Linked DNA regions of Homo sapiens: all the other regions are linked to region 1. The links are contacts of gene promoters, found by promoter capture Hi-C in blood cells and fetal thymus (Javierre and others, 2016). All regions are on one chromosome and are shown on one strand. Each heading gives the region's core, a stretch centred on a gene start or on the middle of the fragment in contact. The rest is flanking DNA. Distances are from core to core; before and after follow the strand shown.

Region 1 (2,509 bases), core at 5-2,504:
TGGTAGTTCATCATTCTCTATTTATGGCATTTTTATTAGGTAACAGTATCTCATCTCTTCCCGATAATTGTGCTGCTGCATATTTTTAGAAACTTTTCCACCCGCCATTGTCAGGGACTGAGGAGTTGCATTAATGTTGAGTTTGAAAATTCTGTTCTTGCATCAGGCAGGTAAAAGTGGCCTTATTAGTATTTCTGTTTTCAATGTCTGGAGAAAAGTCCCAGGGAGAGAAAAACAAGATAAAGCATCATGTTGTCCACTGGTAAAATCTGTACGTGGAAAGTAGGCTAAGCTAGAGTAATCGGTTTAAGGTAGCAGTTAATAGTGTCTGCAGCTCTTTACTTCGTTAACCTCAGTTAACCAGGACCTGGCACAATGGGGATTGAAATCAGGGGGCTTATCCACAGTTTCCTCAAATACTGATTTTATCAAGTTGGGCTGATAATTCCATAAACTGTATGAGCATTGATAGTTAGATGTGATCGTTTTCAGAGTGATTCTTTTTCTGCTTGGGTTTATTTATTTATTTATTTTGAGACAGAATCTCACTGTGTTGTCCAGGCTGGAGTGCAGTGGCGCAATCTCGGCTCACTGCAACCTCCGCCTCCCGGGTTCAAGCGATTCTCCTGCCTCAGCCTCCCAAGTAGATGGGATTACAAGCATGCACCACCACAATCGACTAATTTTTGTGTTTCACCATGCCGGCCAGGCTGGCCTCCAACTCCTGACCTCAAGTGATCGGCCCCCCTCGGCCTCCCAAAGTGTTGAGATTACAGGCGTGAGCCACCACACCCGGCTCCGCTTAGTTTTTGCCAGTAGTTTTGCAGGGATGGTGTGTCTCCCCGCCTCTACCTCCTCCTCCTGTTTTGAAAAAGAGAATAAACGTATTGGAACAGCCCAGGAGATTGCCTGAGTTTTGCTGGCAGCCTCTGAAGCAGCCCACAGTATTTCTACCTTCCCCGGCAAGAACAGTGGCTTTGTTCTGTCCGCGCCGGAGGGGCCGGGCGTCTGCGGAGCTCGGCCTTGGACTTGGGAGCGGCTTTCTCTGGCTCTCCGGAGAAATGGGCAAGAGCGGCGAGGAGAGAAATCTGGGGCCCGGAGGATGTTCTCACCTGTCATTCCTAAGATGCGCTTGAGTGCTGCCCCCTGGAGGCGTCTGTGCCACCGGCTGGAAGTCAGCCGAGGGCACAGGGTGTCAGCAACCTCCAGGGTGGAAACCAACCCCGCGGCCCGGGCCTGCAGGTGACGCAGGGTGGGCGGGGCCTGCAGACGCCGGGTGGGCGGGGCCTGCAGGTGACGCCGGGTGGGCGGGGCCTGCAGACGCCGGGTGGGCGGGGCCTGCAGGTGACGCCGGGTGGGCGGGGCCTGCAGACGCCGGGTGGGCGGGGCCTGCAGGTGACGCCGGGTGGGCGGGGCCTGCAGACGCCGGGTGGGCGGGACCTGCAGGTGACGCCGGGTGGGCGGGGCCTGCAGAGGACCTGCGCGTCCGGATCTGAAGCGAGCAGAGCCCTCTCTACTCCAGCTGAACGGTGATGGTCGTCAGGAAGGAATGTGGGCTCACTGTGGAAAGAACATTCAGTTTTTCAAAAGAAGACAGAAATAGGGATGCTTATGTGAAATTCCTGATTTTTCAAACTTGGCAACTTAATTCAGTTAAAAAAAAAAAAGCATTTCTATGGCAGGACCACGAGTCATAGGTAGAACGCCTTGTACACATTAGAAAGAGAGCCTCGCTCTGGGCAGATAAAGCAGGAGGGGAAAAAAGTAGTGGGTCAAAGGTGCCTCTGAGCAGTTGCTCCCCTGCCCGACTGCTGGGCTTAATGCGATGGTCATGGCTGGATGTCAGCCTCCCTGTGGGGACACTGACACAGCTGCAGCAGCCCTGAGAGAGTCGCCAAGTGGGCCTGCCCATGCCAGGTGCTGTCCTTGGGCCCCAGGTTCACAAACTCTGGATGCTGGAACAGGTAGCCAGAGAGGGCAGGAAAGGCAGTGCAACTTGCAAGTCTACCCTTGTTAAAGGGCCCTACAATTGTAAAATTTCATGCCCCCCATATCCCAAACATCCTCTCCGTATTCCTGGATGATGAACGTTGGCTTGGGAGGCATGTTTACTCTAGGCAATATTTTTCTGAGGTTATTATACTCTGTGTGTGAGGAAGATTCATCTATGTATCCACTTTATCTTTTGGGAGTACATTTCACCTGTTGTTATTTTTAACATCTTCCCTTGATTGACCTGCTCGTGCTGGACCTCTTTAAATTATTTCTAATTCTGACAACATCCTGACAAGGTAATATAATTCCACTTACTTTACAAATAAAGACACTGAGGCTTCAAGAAGTAATTTTTCCCCAGACCAGCTAGGAAATGGCTGTGCAGAGCTTCAAACCCAGGTCTGTCTTACTAGGAGGCTGATGACTTTGATACTTCTACCTGAGATGGCAAAGTCTGTGTCTCTTCTCCCTGACGTCATCTAATGAAGATCTATGCTGTCTGAGCACTTAATGC
Region 2 (2,509 bases), core at 6-2,505, 340 kb after region 1:
TCAGGGAATAAGGAGGCCCAAGGAGAGAGAGAGAGTCATGGGAACGGTTGGTCGGTGAAGCAGTCAGAACACACACAGCATTTATTGATTGAATTTGCTATCTTACTAGCTTAGGCAACATGGCAAAAGCCCGTCTCTACTAAAAATACAAAAAAATTTAGCCAGGCATGGTGGTGCTTGCCTGTAGTCCCAGCTACTCAGGAGGCTGAGGTGGGAGGATCATCTGAGCTTGGGAAGCTGAACTTGCAGTGAGCCATGATCATGCCACTGCACTGCAGCCTGGGTGACAGGAGTGAGTCGCTGTCTCAAAAAAAAAAAAAAATAGTTTACTGTCTTAGATCTTAGATGGGCACAGTTTGTGGCAAAAACAAATCTGTGGCAAAACAATGACAATGTTAACCTCAAAGATCACTGATCACAGATCATCATAACAGATATAATAATAATGAAAAAGTTTGAAATATTGTGAGAATTACCAAAATGTGACAGAGGAAGTGAGCATATGCTGTTGGAAAAATGGTGCTGATAGACTTGCACGATGCAGGGTTGCCATTCAATTTATTTAAAAAAACAAGAAACTGTGAAGAACAACAAAACAAGGTATGCCCATACTCCAAAGGTACTTTTAAGAAATGAATTTTTGAAAGGATTTGAAAATCAAATGTGTTAATTTTGACTGCTCTTTATGGATTTGGCATTTTGTAGTTTTGATTATGACACAAGTTATACATAAGTTTAGGTGTCACTGGACTTGCTTTGCATCTTTTTTTTGTTTTTTTACTAGGTCTTAACTTGCAGAGTCAGTTTAATCTGGAAAATGTCACTGTTTTCAATACAAATGAGCAGGAAAGCACCCTGGGTCAGAAGGTGAGGCTGATTTGAAATCTTCTCAGATAACATATTTGCAAGTTTGTTATTAAGATAGTGGGTCCAGGCACAGTGGCTCACACTTGTAATCCTAGCACTTTGGGAGGCTGAGGTGGGCAGATCGCTTGAGCCTAGGAGTTCAAGACCAGCCTGGACAACATGGCAAATCCTCATTCCTACAAAAAAGTACAAAAATTAGCAGGGCATGGTGGTGCACGCCTGTGGTCCCAGCTACTCGAGAGGCTGAGGTGGGAGAATCGCCTCAGCCCAGGGAGGTCAAGCTGCAGTGAGCCTTGATCATGCCACTGTACTCCAGCCTGGGCGACAGAGTGAGAACCTGTCTCATTTAAAAAAAAAAAAAAAAAAAAAATTTCATGTAAATGGGCCTACAAGTCATCAAAAATTTAAAAACTTTTAACTTTATTTCCAACTTACAGAAATAATGTTTTGTATGTAAAAAATTCAACCAGTGTTTAAGATAGAATGTACAGTTATTCTGTAATCCAAGGTAGACCATGGTAGATTATGGCATAGCTTTCTATTAAAGTGGATTAACAAAGTAGCTATACTTTCTGTTTTAATAGTGTTAATCATAAGGTAGATTATAGAATAGATGTACTTTCTGTTTTAAACATTGGGTTATTTTTTGCAGAATATGTATTTTTTCTATAAATTCATATTATTTCTATAACCACTCATAACATTCTCTGTCTCACCATACCAGGACTTTTTGTGTATATGTACAAACATGTTGTTTTTCTCCAGAATGAGGTCATTCATACTATTCTGAAATTCACTTTCTTCCTTTAAGATTTAGTTTTATCTTAGTTTTTAAATGGCTCTTGATAAATCTCAGAGTGGATATATCACATTTCTCTGCCTGTGGACATTCAGATTATCTCTGATAGTGAAAAACAATGTTACAGTGTCTAGTAGTGTATAATATTGCATCAGTCTGCAGCGTCTGCATCAATTATGCAGATGTCTTTTTAGGATAAATTCCAGTAAGTAAAATTACTGGGTTAAAATATATGCATATTCCATATTTCAATAGCTATTGCCTGGTTACTTCTCAAAAAGGTTATACCAATTTATACAGCCACCAGTGGCACATGGAGAATGCCTGCCCTTTTTCCCCACAGCCTCACCCCAACAGTGTGAATTATCAATTTTTAAAAAATATTGGCTTAATTGATGTATATATTTGAAAAATAAGTCTTCTTAGTTTTAATTTCATTTCCTTGATCATTATTGGTGTTGAGGAACTTATTATATGTTGGTTGGAATTTATTTTTCTTCTGTGAATTAGCTATTCATGCTGTTTGCTCATTTTATTGTTGAATTGTCTTGTGCATTTCCAAAACATTTAGCCCTTTATTCCCAGAGGGAATCTATTGATTATGTTTAGAAATGTAGATTTGAAACTTTCTACTGTCTTCATGACTGTGTTATATCATTGTCATACTGCTCTTGAGTTCTTCTGTCCATCAGGTAAAATTCTGATTGCCTTACAGATTAACTATAGGTCTAGATAGTTAGTGACTAGACTTCTCTAACTGTGGGTTGCCTAGGAATGTGTAACTGACCACTTATTCTAGCATTTATCTCTTCTGTCTGATGACTGCTTCATGACAGGCTATAC
Region 3 (2,509 bases), core at 4-2,503, 320 kb after region 1:
GGCCAAGGTTGCAGTGAGCCAAGATCATACCACTGCACTCCAGCCTGGGCGACAGAGCGAGACTCCGTCTCAAAAATAAATAAATAAATAACCCTGCTCCCACACAGAATAAAGGCCTCATTAGGGTAGTAACTCTTCTTTGTTCACAGTGCTAGGTTCACATATATTTGTTGAGAATAAACAAAGAAAATATTTTCTGAATACAAATAAAAAATTACTACATGATTAGTATCTTAGGGCAGTGTGGTGGCCATGATAATGCTCTACTCAGATCTTCAGCTGCGGGGACCACAGTTGACTGACAGCTCAAGCTGCTACCCTCTGGATCAACCACCACATTTGCACCAAGGCCATGCTTTCTGAGGGTCCCAGTCAATGAATGAGGATGGCAAAGGTACTAGTACAGGCCCATTCTGACAAACTGCAGGACTCTTTGCAAAGCCAACCCTTTCTTGGAATTGCACTGTACCCAGAAACTTCTTACCCAATCCACATTCCTTCCTTTTCTCCTCCTGTGAGTGTCAGACCTGCACTGCTGTCTGCAAGTTCTCCCTCCCTGCTCTTGCTCTCTCCTTAGTAAATCTCTTGCACATCCAATGTATGGTGTAATGTATCTGTGTCTGCTTCTATGTAGACCCAAACGAACACAATCCGGATCTTCAGAAGCAAATCCTGAGGTGATAATTCATAAGCAAATGATTTGTTAAGATAATACTCTCAGGGAGAGAGAAAAACAGGACAGGAAAGGGGAACAAGCCAAACAATGGTAGAATTTCAGGCAAATCCCTTGACTAACCCTGCAGGGAAGCTTGGCATGCCCGGGCAAAAACTGACCCACTATTCCATCTCTCACCTTGAATTATGCTCATTATGTGGTCCAACTGAGCCCACCAAACAGGATTTTACAATATATGCTAGATAATGATATATACAGTACCTGCAATATAATAAAATAGTGCTACATATATATTTCAATAATATTATACCTTTGCCTGGCAGATAGTAAGCACTCAATATATTGAACAAACAGTACAATATCAACAATATAAAATGCTTGAAAATTGCCACTATGCTATAAAAATACAGCCTCCCTACATAGCTTTCATGAAAATTACTCTTTTTCCAAGAAAATTTAAGCTCTAGAGTATAAAGGGCCGTCCTTTTCCTTTTTTTTTTTGAGATAGAGTCACACTCTGTCACCCAGGCTAGAGTGCAGTAGCACGATCTCTGCTCACTGAAACCTCCACCTCCCACGTTCCAGCGCTTCTCCTGCCTCAGCCTTCTGGGTAGCTAGGATTACAGGCGCGGCCAACACACCCAGCTAATTTTTTGTATTTTTAGTAGAGATAGGGTTACACCATCTTGGTCAGGCTGGTCTCAAACTCCTGGCCTCAAGTGATCCACCCACCTTGGCCTCCCAAAGTGCTGGGATTACAGGTGTGACTCACTGTGCCCGGCCATTTTTTTCATTTTTATTCTTCTCAGTTCCATTCCTCTCACAATGCAGGAGTCTCATTCTTTTTATTCAACTTTGCCACTCAAACATCAGTTCCCTTTAAATAAATATAATTATTTCAATCCACTTAAACTACAAATGAGAGAAAGGGAGAGATGGCTGGGGCCCAAATGCTGAAAAAGGCAAACCTGCAATCCAACATCCTAATGTGGCCGACCAGTAAGCATGGAGCAAAAAGCTTCCTTCTGCCTAGACAATAGTCAGGATAAGAACTAGAAGAAAAGCAGATTAAACTGCATCCTTAGTCCTTTCCTCCCAGATCTTACCATTCCAATGGTAAACTGAACTCAAGTAAGGCCACACTAAGGAAAAAAAAGAGGAATGAAGATGTGAATGCCTAGAACTGATCTAAACCATCCATCCTAGATTCTCCCATGCAAGTTATTTCCTAACAGAGAGGCAGTCCTTCGTCCATCTTACTTCACCAGCTAGCATGAGGAAAAACAGGTGCTCAGTAAATATAAGTGAAAAGGTTACATGTTCCTGGATGTCTGCCCTCTGGATGTTATTACCCACTTAAAAACAAACAAACAAACAAACAAAAAAACAAAAAACAAAAAACTCTTTTTTTTTTTTTTTTTTTTTGAGATGGAGTTTTGCTCTTGTTGCCCAGGCTGGAGTGCAATGGCAGGATCTTGGCTCGCTGAAACCTCCGCCTCCCGGGTTCAAGCGATTCTCCTGACTCAGCCTCCCGAGTAGCTGGGATTACAGGTGCCTGCCACCATGCCTGGCTGATTTTTGTATTTTTAGTAGAGATGGGGTTTCACCATATTGGCCAGGCTGGTCTCAAACTCCCGACCTCAGGTGATCCAGCTGGCTCGGCCTCCCAAAGTAGTGGGATTACAGGCGTGAGCCACCGCACCGGGCCTATGTTTTGTTATTAATGACACTATGGTCCTCGCCCTTATCCAATTGTAAGGAAATAATTTCTGAAACATTGAATAGGCCCATGGTAAAGATTCAAGAGTTAAGACTTAAGAAAAATACAGGCTT
Region 4 (2,509 bases), core at 6-2,505, 300 kb after region 1:
TTGATCATTTGGGAAAGGAACCAAAGGAAGTCCTTTTCATCACACTAATGCAAAAAGACACACAAAGCATGACCCAGATATTAAAGAGGGGTCAGCACTTTTAGCGGATGCCATTCATGGTTGAACCGAGGAGGCTGCTGTCTGGGAGCCTTAAAAACAAAGAAAATGATGAAGGAAAGGTCGGGGAAAATACTGGCCAGGGTGAGACACAATGGTGAGATCAGGAGGATCTGAAAGGGGTCTGACTTCAATAAAAAGACAAGATGTAGAAGGATCCCATTTTTCTAGCTTCTTCCCCACTCTCCTAAAAATTTGAATCCAAATAGACAGCATCCGTGATTGCAATGTATGTACCCTTTCCATCATGGTTCCATCAATTAGAAGAAGAAGGCAGTAATTAGGATGATACTAGTTGCTATAACAAACAGACCCTTATAATAGTATATAAGGTTCAAAGACAAATAGAAGTTTACTTCTTGCCCTAATTCAGTGTGAGGTAGATATTCCTAGTTGCTTGACAGCTCTCTTCCACATAGTGATTCAGGAACCCAGGTTCTGTCATTTCTCAGGGCTTTGTCATCTTCTGCATCAAGAATCTAGAAAGAGAATGAGGATGAAGAGGGCATATGTGCCTCTTTAAAACCCTGGCTCAAAAGTGACATATAAAAAGCTTCTACTGACAAACCATTGGCTAGAACTCATTTATGTGCTATGCCTACCTGCAAGGGTGCTAGAAATGTAGTCTAGCTACATGCCCAAGAAAAAGAAGGAATAGATTTTTTGGTGAACAGGTAACCAGCTGCTTAGAAGCAGATGAATGCTTTATTCATGTCTGCGTGAATACCTCCTGCTGCACGTTGCAGCGTTTGTGGTAAGTAAACATTAGTGAAATAAAGGAACACTTGAATGACTACTGAAGTCATAGTAATAATAATTATAAAAGCAGTTATTGGGAGCAGATCATACGCACCATTCTAAGTCATTTTCACATATTATCTTACTTAATCCTCAAAATTTTGTGTTGTTTTACAAGTGAGGAAACATGCACAGAGAGATTAAGCAACTCACTGAAAATCATAGTGCTGGTAAGTAGCAAAGCTGGATTTTGAGTCCAGATTTCTTATTCTTATCCACTATGTTTTGCTGCCTCCCAGAGTGTAACTTTTAATCACAACTTTTATTCATGCTCACAAGAAACCAGCTTTTAGAATGCTATAACCCAAAGTTTCGCATAATGTAGTGTAGTGTTTCTCAGATTGGATTCATGGGTGGAGCCCATTGAGATCACTACGACAGTTCTTACGTTTTGGATTTCCATTGCAATGATAACCTTTAAAACAAAACCATGGAAGGTATGAATCCCAGCGTGCACATCTATATATGTAAATACATAATTTTCTATAATTAAACTTAATTTCTAATTTTGAGTCTACCATTCTACCAGGAGGACAGGCAACTTAACCTCAGGTCTCTTTCTTCCCCTCACCCCACATCTCCAGGGTTTTGTCCCAATTTCATGGCCTTTCACAGAGCTCAACACCAAAGGACGTGGGGGTGTGGTGTGGGAGGGATGACATCTGTCTAAACAAGTGGCCCCTGAGATGTGGCCCTCCAACCTCAGCCTAGTGCCTCCCGCTGACCAAATCTAAGCAGAAGCCAAAAGGCAAGAGGGCCCAATTATGCAATTCATACAGGTCAGCCCTCAGGGGCACAGATAAGGGTGGAGATGCAGAGTAGGTGTGGAGGCAGGAATGGAAGATAACCAACACACTGAAGAAGGGTGTACTCTGAAATGCCCCTATCATCTGGAAATTTAGGGAACACAAACCAAGAAGCTTGCGAGCAACAGCTGCTTTTCTTTTTTCTTTCCTTCTTTTTTTTAATTACTTTTATTTATTTATTTTTTGAGATGGGGTCTCGCTCTGTCACCCAGGCTGGAGTACAGTGTCGTGATCTCGGTTCACTGCAATCTCCACCTCTGGGCTTAAGCCGTCCTCCTGCCTCAGCCTGCCAAGTAGCTGGGACTTCAGGGGCATACCACAATGCCTGGCTAGTTTTTGTGTTTTTTTTTGTAGAGACGGGGGTTTTGCCATGTTGCCCAAGCTGGTCTTGAACTCCTGGGCTCAAATGATCTGTCCACCTTGGCCTCCCAAAGTGCTGGGATTACAGGTGTGAGCCACCGTGCCCAGCCCAGTTGCTGCTTTTCTGACCAATCACATCTCTCCAACAAGGTCATCAGCATAGAACCCAAGCACCTGCTTGAGTGGCTGGGGCAGGAAGAAAGGGAAGAGCTGTAGAAGAAAATCACAGAGAGAAATCAATCAATAATTAATTTCTCAGAACACTGTATCAGCAATATTAACACATTGTTTAAGCCTCTGGATGACCATCTGACAATGTTACTGCCCCCCAGAGTTCAGGGCTTGCATTTGCCTATAACAATGTACTAGAACCAAGTATTTCTTCATTCATCAACTCCTACAGTCAGGAAATATTTACTGAACACCTT
Region 5 (2,509 bases), core at 5-2,504, 280 kb after region 1:
TCTCTGCCTCCCAGGTTCAAGCGACTCTCCCGCCTCAGCCTCTGCAGTAGCTTAGGGACTACAGGTGCGTGCCACCATGCCAGGCTAATTTTTGTGTTTTTAGTAGAGACACGGTTTCGCCATTTTGGCCAGGCTGGTCTCAAACTCCTGACCTCAGGTGATCCACCCGCCTTGGCCTCCCAAAGTGCTGGGATTACAGGTGTGAGCCACCGTGCCCGGCCTACACACCAGCTTTCTATTCACCTACACACAACTGATGCTCTTTTGGAGTGGAGAGTTTTAGTAAAATATGATGGGGTCTTCAGGCACCTGAGTTGCTACTTACTACTATGAGAAGATAGAAAATGTTTTTTCCTCTAAACAGCTTTTGAAAGAATGAATGCACAACAAGGCAAAAAATAAAAACTTTCTTTTCCTTTTCTACGATCAATGTTCAACAACTCGTTCCTTCCAATTTGTAACAGAGTTGAAGCTGAAACAGACAAAAAATAGTAATAGCTGCTCCCATTTAAAGAAAAATGCTTGAGGAAACAGCTGTATAAATCAAGAAACAATACCAAGCAGATGACGAAACTGATCTCTTCTTGAGAACGTAAGCATGTTAGCTCATTCGTGACTCAAAGTCATGTAATAATAGTTGACATATACCACTTTTCACATACATTATCGCTTCCAGTCTTCACGCACATCTATTGTTCCTGCTTGAGAAATGAGGAAACTGAGGCTCAGGTTGAAGACTTGCCCATGGCTCACGTATCTGTCACAGTCACTTTCCAAAAAGCAAATCTGATCAGGTTCCCCACTCAGGTCCCCAAATCTGAATCCATCCTACCTCTCACCCTCGGCTTAAAATCTTCCAAACAATCCTGGTTGGGCTCAGGACATACCTGCAGGGGCCGTAAGGCACTTGGTACCTGGTTCCCAACTCCAAGTCTAGCCTTCTTTCCAGGTGGGACCCATCACCCATGCCCTGGCACTAGCACAGCCAGACTATGCACCTGCACCTTCCACTAGCCTCTTTATCACCTCCATACTCCCCCTGGGTTTTCTTTCCCTGCCTCCTTTACCTGGAAAACACCTCCTTTAAGATTCAGCTCAAGCATCACTTCTTATCTGAATCCTTTCCCAACAAACCACACCTGGAGGTAGAACTGGCTCCTGCACCAAGTGCTCTGGGTAATAAAAGAGAAAACCCCTTCACTGTGTTAGATAATCTACAGGTTAGCTGAAAAGCCTAAAACTTAATGAATTAAGACAGAGGCCAGGCATGGTGGCTTATGCCTGTAATCCTAGCACTTTGGGAGGCCAAGGTGGGAGGATGGCTCAGGCCCAGGAATTCAAGGCCAGCCTGGCCATCATGGTGAAACCCCATCTCTACAAAAAATACAAAAGTTAGCTGGGTGTGGTGGTGCTTGCCTGTAGTCCCAGCTACTGGGGAGGCTGAGGTGGGAGGAACACTTGAGCCTGGGAGGTCAAGGCTGCAGTGAGCTGAGATTGTGCCACTGAGCTCCAGTCTGGGTGACAGAGTCAAGACCTTTTCGAAAAAAATATTAAAAGCCAGGCGTGGTGGCTCACACTGATAATCCCAGTACTTTGGGAAGCCAAGGCGGGTGGATCATGGTGAAACCCTGTCTCTACTGGAAAAAAAAAAAATTAGCTGGGCGTGGTGGCAGGCACCTGTAATCCCAGCCACTTGGGAGGCTGAGGCACAAAAACTGCTTGAACCTGGGAGGCGGAGGTTACAGTGAGCTGAGCTCGCGCCATTGCACTCCAGACTGGGTGACAGAGCAATACTCCATCTCAAAAATAAATAAAATAATAAATAAATAAATAGAGAAGCCAAACAGGAGAAGTGAAGGAATTCATGATGTTGCTAATAGTTGGTGCGTGTGTGTGTGTGTGTGTGTGTGTGTGTGTGTGTGTGTGTGTGAATGGAAGATTGAGTAAAGGAATCACATGGTAAACCAGACTCATTCTCTTCATTCTCTTTACCAAAATATGGCCCTGAGTCAGGGAAACGTTTTGGAACCCGTCCTAAATGGCAGTGTGATGGGGCATCTCATTTCTTAGTCATACTCAACAGTTTTAGAAGTACAAGCAAATTTTTCAGTCTTTCTAAGAATCTGTTTCTTTGTGCAATAACTTCATTTTTCTCAGAAGAATCCCTTAAGGGCATGGCATCATATTTATTTTCTAAGTCACAAGGCAGATGTTGACAATATTTTGTTTCACTCTTTCATCCTTCCTCTCCTACATACCCCTGTTCAAATAAGTATGTAGCATGCACAGGTTATGCCAGGTGAGCAGAAGGCCAGAGGGAAGCAGACCTATGAAAACCAACTTTAATTTCTCAGAGGTTTTGAGTGGTTTTCACATTTTTTCAGTGAATGAGTATATGAATGAATGATCTCCAGCCAGCCCTGCCTTCATAGCCGGGATTGTATCCCAGCCTCCAGCCTCCTCCAAGGACTTACTAGCCTTGAGTTTGCAAAGCAAGGATCACCGTGCA
Region 6 (2,509 bases), core at 4-2,503, 280 kb before region 1:
AAACCTTGACTTTGCTCTTCGGCTTTCAACAGATCGAATGAGGCCCACACACAAGAATAGTCTCCTTTACTTAAACTCAATTAATTGTAGCTGTTAACCATATTTACAAAATACCTTCACAGCAACACTTAGATTAGTGTTTGATTGAACAATTAGGCACTATAGCCTATCCAAATTGACACATAAAACCAGTCATTACAATCTCCAACAGTTATTTAAATAACAGAATTCTTTTGGTCCTCCAATTACAGTTAAGACATCACAAGTTTTGTCTAAACTATCAATGCAGTCACTTCCAAAATCATGAAGAAACTATTATTATAATATTATTATTATATTAAACTATTATATACACAATGCTCCCAGCCCTCCCAAAATCATGAAGAAACTATTATTTAAATTTAATTTATATCAGTAGTATTTATTCATTGTTAAACACTACTTACAGCATCCGAATCTCAAATAGAACAGCTCTACCACTAGGAAAAAACCCTTAGTGGTTTTTGGATAGTGTTTTGAAAACATTTATTTATAGCCAAGAATTGCCAGGAATAACAGCCAAATTAATAATTAAATAGAAAGCTTTTATTGCAAAAGGAGCAAGCTAAAATAAATAGCAACCATCTGAAACTTTTCAATATGCAAATTCATAAAGCTTTTAGTTAACTGAACAGTTATTACAATAATAACTAACAATCTGACACCTTCGAGATCCCCTGGAGCTCCTGACCTTTAAATCCAAGAAAGCTGACAGGGACAGCCTAGCAATTCAGCCTGTGTGGGAGGAAATAAGAAAGAAACCAATGGAAAACTGTGGGAAAACACGGAGGCAGGCAGAACATATTGGGATGTGTTTTGCGTTATTATATACAGGGGAATGGGTTTTTATAGTCAATGACTAAAGTGAGTAAAACCGTATTTTTATTTTCTTATAACAGGATTTAATTGTTTCCCTGAGCTTCCATTACTATTAGCGAAAGTTTAATCTAATAATTTCTAGGTAAACTCAGTCAAATCAATCATTACAAAAAAATTGATGTTATTAGTTAAGTCAGAATTTTTTTCCCAGGAAAATCCAAGGACCTTATGTTCCACTTTAACCTAAAGGTATGAGTTTTAGAGAGCTTGTGGAAGTGCCTATATTTGAGTGGGAGAAGCAACTGGGGTTTTTTGTTGTTGTTCTTGTTTTTTGTTTTTTGTTTTTTGGTTTTTGGTTTTTTTGAGAGACGGTCCTGCTCTGTCACCCAGGCTGGAGGGCAATGATGCAATCACAGCTCGCTGCAGCCTTGACCTCCCAGGCTGAAGCGATTCTTCCGCTTCAGCCTCCTGAGTAGCTTGGACTACAGGCATGTGCCGCCACACCTGGCTAATTTTTTTTTTTAAGAGACAGGGTCTCACTGTGTTGTCCAGGCTGGTCTCAAATTTCTGGGCTCAAATGAGCCCCTAGTCTCCAACGCTTCTGCCTCCCAAAGTACTGGGATTGCAGGCATGAGCCCCCAGGGCCAGCGGCATCTGGTTCTTGATGGCTCTCCACCCTCCAGGGCCTCCACAGAGCTAGTACTCACCTTGCTGGGTCTTTAGTGAGGGGCATCTATGCCAGCTGTGGTTTCTCTTTCAAATGGGCCATGCAGCATCTGCTGACGGCTCCCCTTCATCGTGATTGGCAGCCACTTCTACTCCATCCGGCTTCTCTCAGCCAATCTTGAGCCTCTCTTGAGAGCACGAGAAACTTTCCAGTGCTCTCCTGTCCCACTCGCCATGACTGGTGGTGGGCAGTGTGGGGAACAAGACCCAGGCACCCTGCCTAGGCCACCACTCTCACAGGCATTTGCCACTGCCATGCCAAGCTTTGGTGGGAGGGGGCTTCTCTGCAAAGCTTGGGTGTCCCCCAGCCTTACTTGGGAAAGGAAGCACTCACACACCACTAGCCTACCTAGAGTCGAATTTATTATGCTACACACATGCACAAACACACATATAGAACCCAGGGAGGGGAAGCAGAACTCTGGGACCCTTCTCAACTCTACTCTCTGCTCTCACTGAACAAACGTGCTTTTCCCATTAGATCATCCTTTTGGATGGGGGACAGGTGCATGCACAGACCCCTGGCTCTTAGCAGTCACAGGATTTTCTCTCTAACCTATGTTCTCCCTTAGGGAAACTCTAAAGATATTTTTTCATAACGATTGTTTTTTATTTTGGCTGCTTCACCCCTCACTAGAAAAAACAAAGTTCCACAGATGTAATGAGCTGAGAGTTTTGGCAGAAAATAAAAGTGAAGAAAACCTTGATTTGTCCTTTCATGCTACAATAGCTACAATGTTCTAACAGAGAAACTATTTTTGTTCCCCGTTGATGATGGCACATATAGTGGAGAAATTTTCTTGGGTTTCAGGTGGTCTAACAGGCTTATATTTGAATCCCAGTTCCATTATGGTCCCTCTAATTGCTCTTGGACAAGTTACTTAACCTCTTTGAAATTCATTTTCCTCATTCTCCATACCTATCT
Region 7 (2,509 bases), core at 5-2,504, 260 kb after region 1:
TTCTGGAGGCCGCAAGTCCAAGATCAAGGTGTCAGCAGTGTTGTTTCCTCCGAGGCCTCCCTCCTTGGTTTGCAGGAGTCCATCTTCTCCCTGTGCCCTCAAGCGATCTTTCCTCTATGTGTCTGTGACCTAATCCCCTCTTCTTTAAGTACACCAGTCCTATTGGATTAGGGTCACTCATGTCACCTCGTTTTAACTCGATGACCTCTGTAAAGGCCGTGTCTCTTAATAAGTCCCATCCTGAGGTGCTGGGGGTTAGGACTTCAGCATAAGAATTTGGAGGAGGACATAATTTAGCCCATAACAGTCTACAGTAGTATGATAAACAGATGGTCTTTCCCTGCTGTATATACTTTGTATGCTAGGTTTTTTTAATTTGGAGATTTTATAAGAAGAAAAATTATTCATAACTATCATTCACAGTGGATTTCATGTTGACACCTTTTTCTTTTATGCTTTAGGTCCACCGGGCCCCAGGGGTCCAAGAGGTGACAGAGGATCCCAGGGACCCCCTGGCCCAACTGGCAACAAGGGACAGAAAGGAGAGAAGGGGGAGCCTGGACCACCTGGCCCTGCGGGTGAGAGAGGCCCAATTGGACCAGCTGGTCCCCCCGGAGAGCGTGGCGGCAAAGGATCTAAAGGCTCCCAGGGCCCCAAAGGCTCCCGTGGTTCCCCTGGGAAGCCCGGCCCTCAGGGCTCCAGTGGGGACCCAGGCCCCCCGGGCCCACCAGGCAAAGAGGGACTCCCCGGCCCTCAGGGCCCTCCTGGCTTCCAGGGACTTCAGGGCACCGTTGGGGAGCCTGGGGTGCCTGGACCTCGGGGACTGCCAGGCTTGCCTGGGGTACCAGGCATGCCAGGCCCCAAGGGCCCCCCCGGCCCTCCTGGCCCATCAGGAGCGGTGGTGCCCCTGGCCCTGCAGAATGAGCCAACCCCAGCACCGGAGGACAATGGTAAGTCCAAGCCCTCCCTCCAGCCAGGGGGACAGGGCAGTGCATGTGCTTGAGACTGAGCCAACCCCCAGTGTGTGGCCCCACCCATGTTATTTTTGTTTTTGTTTTTGTTTTGAGACAGGGTCTCACTCTGTTGCCCAGGCTGGAGTGCAGTGGCGTGATCTCGGCTCACTGCAACCTCCACATCCCGGGTTCAAGTGATTCTCCTGCCTTAGCCTCCCAGGTAGCTGGGACTACAAGCGTGTGCCCCCACAGCCAGCTAATTTTTGTATTTTTAGTAGAGAGGGGGTTTCACCGTGTTGGCCAGGCTGGTCTCAAACTCCTGGCCTCAAGTGATCCACCTACCTTAGTCTCCCAAAGTGCTGGGATTACAGGTGTGAGCCACCACGTCTTGTCCCCCGCTGCATATTATTTAACAGCAAAGGCATCATAGGGGCTGGCACAGGAGCCCTGCTGCCAGAACAGGCCTCCATACCAGGCATGTGTTTCTCTCTAAACGCCATTGGGTTCTCTAGTGCTCATTTGTTTTATGTATTATGTGTGTATGTATGGGACAGGGTCTCACTCTGTCACCCAGGCTGGAATGACGAAGTGAAGTAGTGCAAACATAGCTCACTGCAGCTTTGACCTCCTGGGCTTAGGTGATCTTCCCACTCAGACTCCTGCGTAGCTGGGACCACAGGGGTATGCCACCACACCTGGCTAATTTTTTATTTTCCTTTTTGTAGAGACAGGGTCTTGCTATGTTGCCCAGGCTGGTCTTGAACTCCTGGCCTCAAGCAACCCTCCTGCCTCAGTCTTGCAAAGTGCTGGGATTCCAGGTGGGAGCCACTGCACCTGGCTCTTGCACTTGTTTATTTATAGGAGCCAGCCCTCAGAAGACAAACACAATGCAAAACATTTCCTTCAGGGAAGCCTGCTGGCCGCCCTGAGCGCTCTTCCCTCGTTTTACATCCTCACTCTGGAGATAGATGGGCTCCCTCGGTTAGCTCCATCAACATGTGGATGGAACCCTCTGCTATTGATGACTACATTTAATTTCTTTTTGAGAAAGGTGTTAGATGTTACGGTGCCTTCTAGTCTTTTGATAATTAAACCTTTGGCAAAACTCGAATGTTTGGTTAGCAACCAAGCCTATTTTTCTCTCCTTTGACCCAACCGCTATTCTACTTGATTTTGGTCGGTGAGGCCCGGGTTATTTTTGTTGATCCGTGAGCCCAGTTTTGGTGCTGGGTTCTCACATCCAAGTGTTCCTGGGTTCCGTATGATTCCAGACTGACGCTGAACATCTGTGCCTGCCCTGCTTCTTGTTGTTGCTTCTGTTATTTCTGTCATTGTGAAGACGGATCCAGACACAGAAGAACAAAGACCCAGTCAAAGATCTTTTCCAGATTATGTGGTTTTGGCTTGTGCTCTGCAGTCCACTTTGGGTCATGCTTGCTGCGAGCACGTCCGTGAACGTCAGCTGTGGGCCTCGTGCAGGGACGCTCAGGCTGCTCCCAGCGGGACCACAGTTTTGGCCTCTGAAACACAGCTGAAGAAAGGCAGAGTGCTTTCTG

What was found. Contacts are between HindIII fragments. The CHiCAGO score rates a contact against its expected background, and 5 or more counts as called.
Region 2: a fragment that was not itself captured here is called in contact with the fragment with the promoter of CLUL1 in region 1 in 4 of 17 cell types (M2 macrophages, M0 macrophages, monocytes and 1 more); the score reaches 11.9 in M2 macrophages.
Region 3: a contact is called between a fragment that was not itself captured here and the fragment with the promoter of CLUL1 in region 1, in 7 of 17 cell types (M2 macrophages, M0 macrophages, M1 macrophages and 4 more). The highest score is 16.4, in M2 macrophages.
Region 4: a fragment that was not itself captured here is called in contact with the fragment with the promoter of CLUL1 in region 1 in 9 of 17 cell types (M2 macrophages, M0 macrophages, M1 macrophages and 6 more); the score reaches 38.4 in M2 macrophages.
Region 5: a fragment that was not itself captured here is called in contact with the fragment with the promoter of CLUL1 in region 1 in 5 of 17 cell types (M2 macrophages, M0 macrophages, M1 macrophages and 2 more); the score reaches 17.6 in M2 macrophages.
Region 6: a fragment that was not itself captured here is called in contact with the fragment with the promoter of CLUL1 in region 1 in 1 of 17 cell types (activated CD4 T cells); the score reaches 5.1 in activated CD4 T cells.
Region 7: a fragment that was not itself captured here is called in contact with the fragment with the promoter of CLUL1 in region 1 in 5 of 17 cell types (M2 macrophages, monocytes, M0 macrophages and 2 more); the score reaches 14.5 in M2 macrophages.

The regions. Positions count from the first base shown.
Region 1 is chr18:595,733-598,241 of GRCh38, reverse strand. CLUL1 (clusterin like 1) reads right to left here and starts at 1,254. Exons shown (of 10, transcript NM_001393344.1): 1 at 1,113-1,254. RefSeq lists an enhancer at 274-773 and silencers at 1,196-1,315, 1,376-1,505. The HindIII fragment of the contact is 7,229 bases long and covers 1-2,509 here.
Region 2 is chr18:252,631-255,139 of GRCh38, reverse strand. It overlaps THOC1 (THO complex subunit 1), which reads left to right. Exons shown (of 21, transcript NM_005131.3): 8 at 785-867. Among named protein-coding and RNA genes, the nearest start is that of THOC1, 14 kb to the left of the region's middle. The HindIII fragment of the contact is 2,736 bases long and covers 1-2,509 here.
Region 3 is chr18:270,835-273,343 of GRCh38, reverse strand. No RefSeq gene overlaps it. Among named protein-coding and RNA genes, the nearest start is that of THOC1, 4.0 kb to the right of the region's middle. The HindIII fragment of the contact is 886 bases long and covers 811-1,696 here.
Region 4 is chr18:292,376-294,884 of GRCh38, reverse strand. No RefSeq gene overlaps it. Among named protein-coding and RNA genes, the nearest start is that of THOC1, 26 kb to the right of the region's middle. The HindIII fragment of the contact is 1,165 bases long and covers 673-1,837 here.
Region 5 is chr18:314,654-317,162 of GRCh38, reverse strand. It overlaps COLEC12 (collectin subfamily member 12), which reads left to right. Exons shown (of 10, transcript NM_130386.3): 10 at 1-426. Among named protein-coding and RNA genes, the nearest start is that of THOC1, 48 kb to the right of the region's middle. The HindIII fragment of the contact is 2,946 bases long and covers 1-2,509 here.
Region 6 is chr18:876,204-878,712 of GRCh38, reverse strand. No RefSeq gene overlaps it. Among named protein-coding and RNA genes, the nearest start is that of ADCYAP1, 27 kb to the left of the region's middle. The HindIII fragment of the contact is 1,192 bases long and covers 658-1,849 here.
Region 7 is chr18:333,183-335,691 of GRCh38, reverse strand. It overlaps COLEC12 (collectin subfamily member 12), which reads left to right. Exons shown (of 10, transcript NM_130386.3): 6 at 462-950. Among named protein-coding and RNA genes, the nearest start is that of THOC1, 66 kb to the right of the region's middle. The HindIII fragment of the contact is 2,752 bases long and covers 1-2,509 here.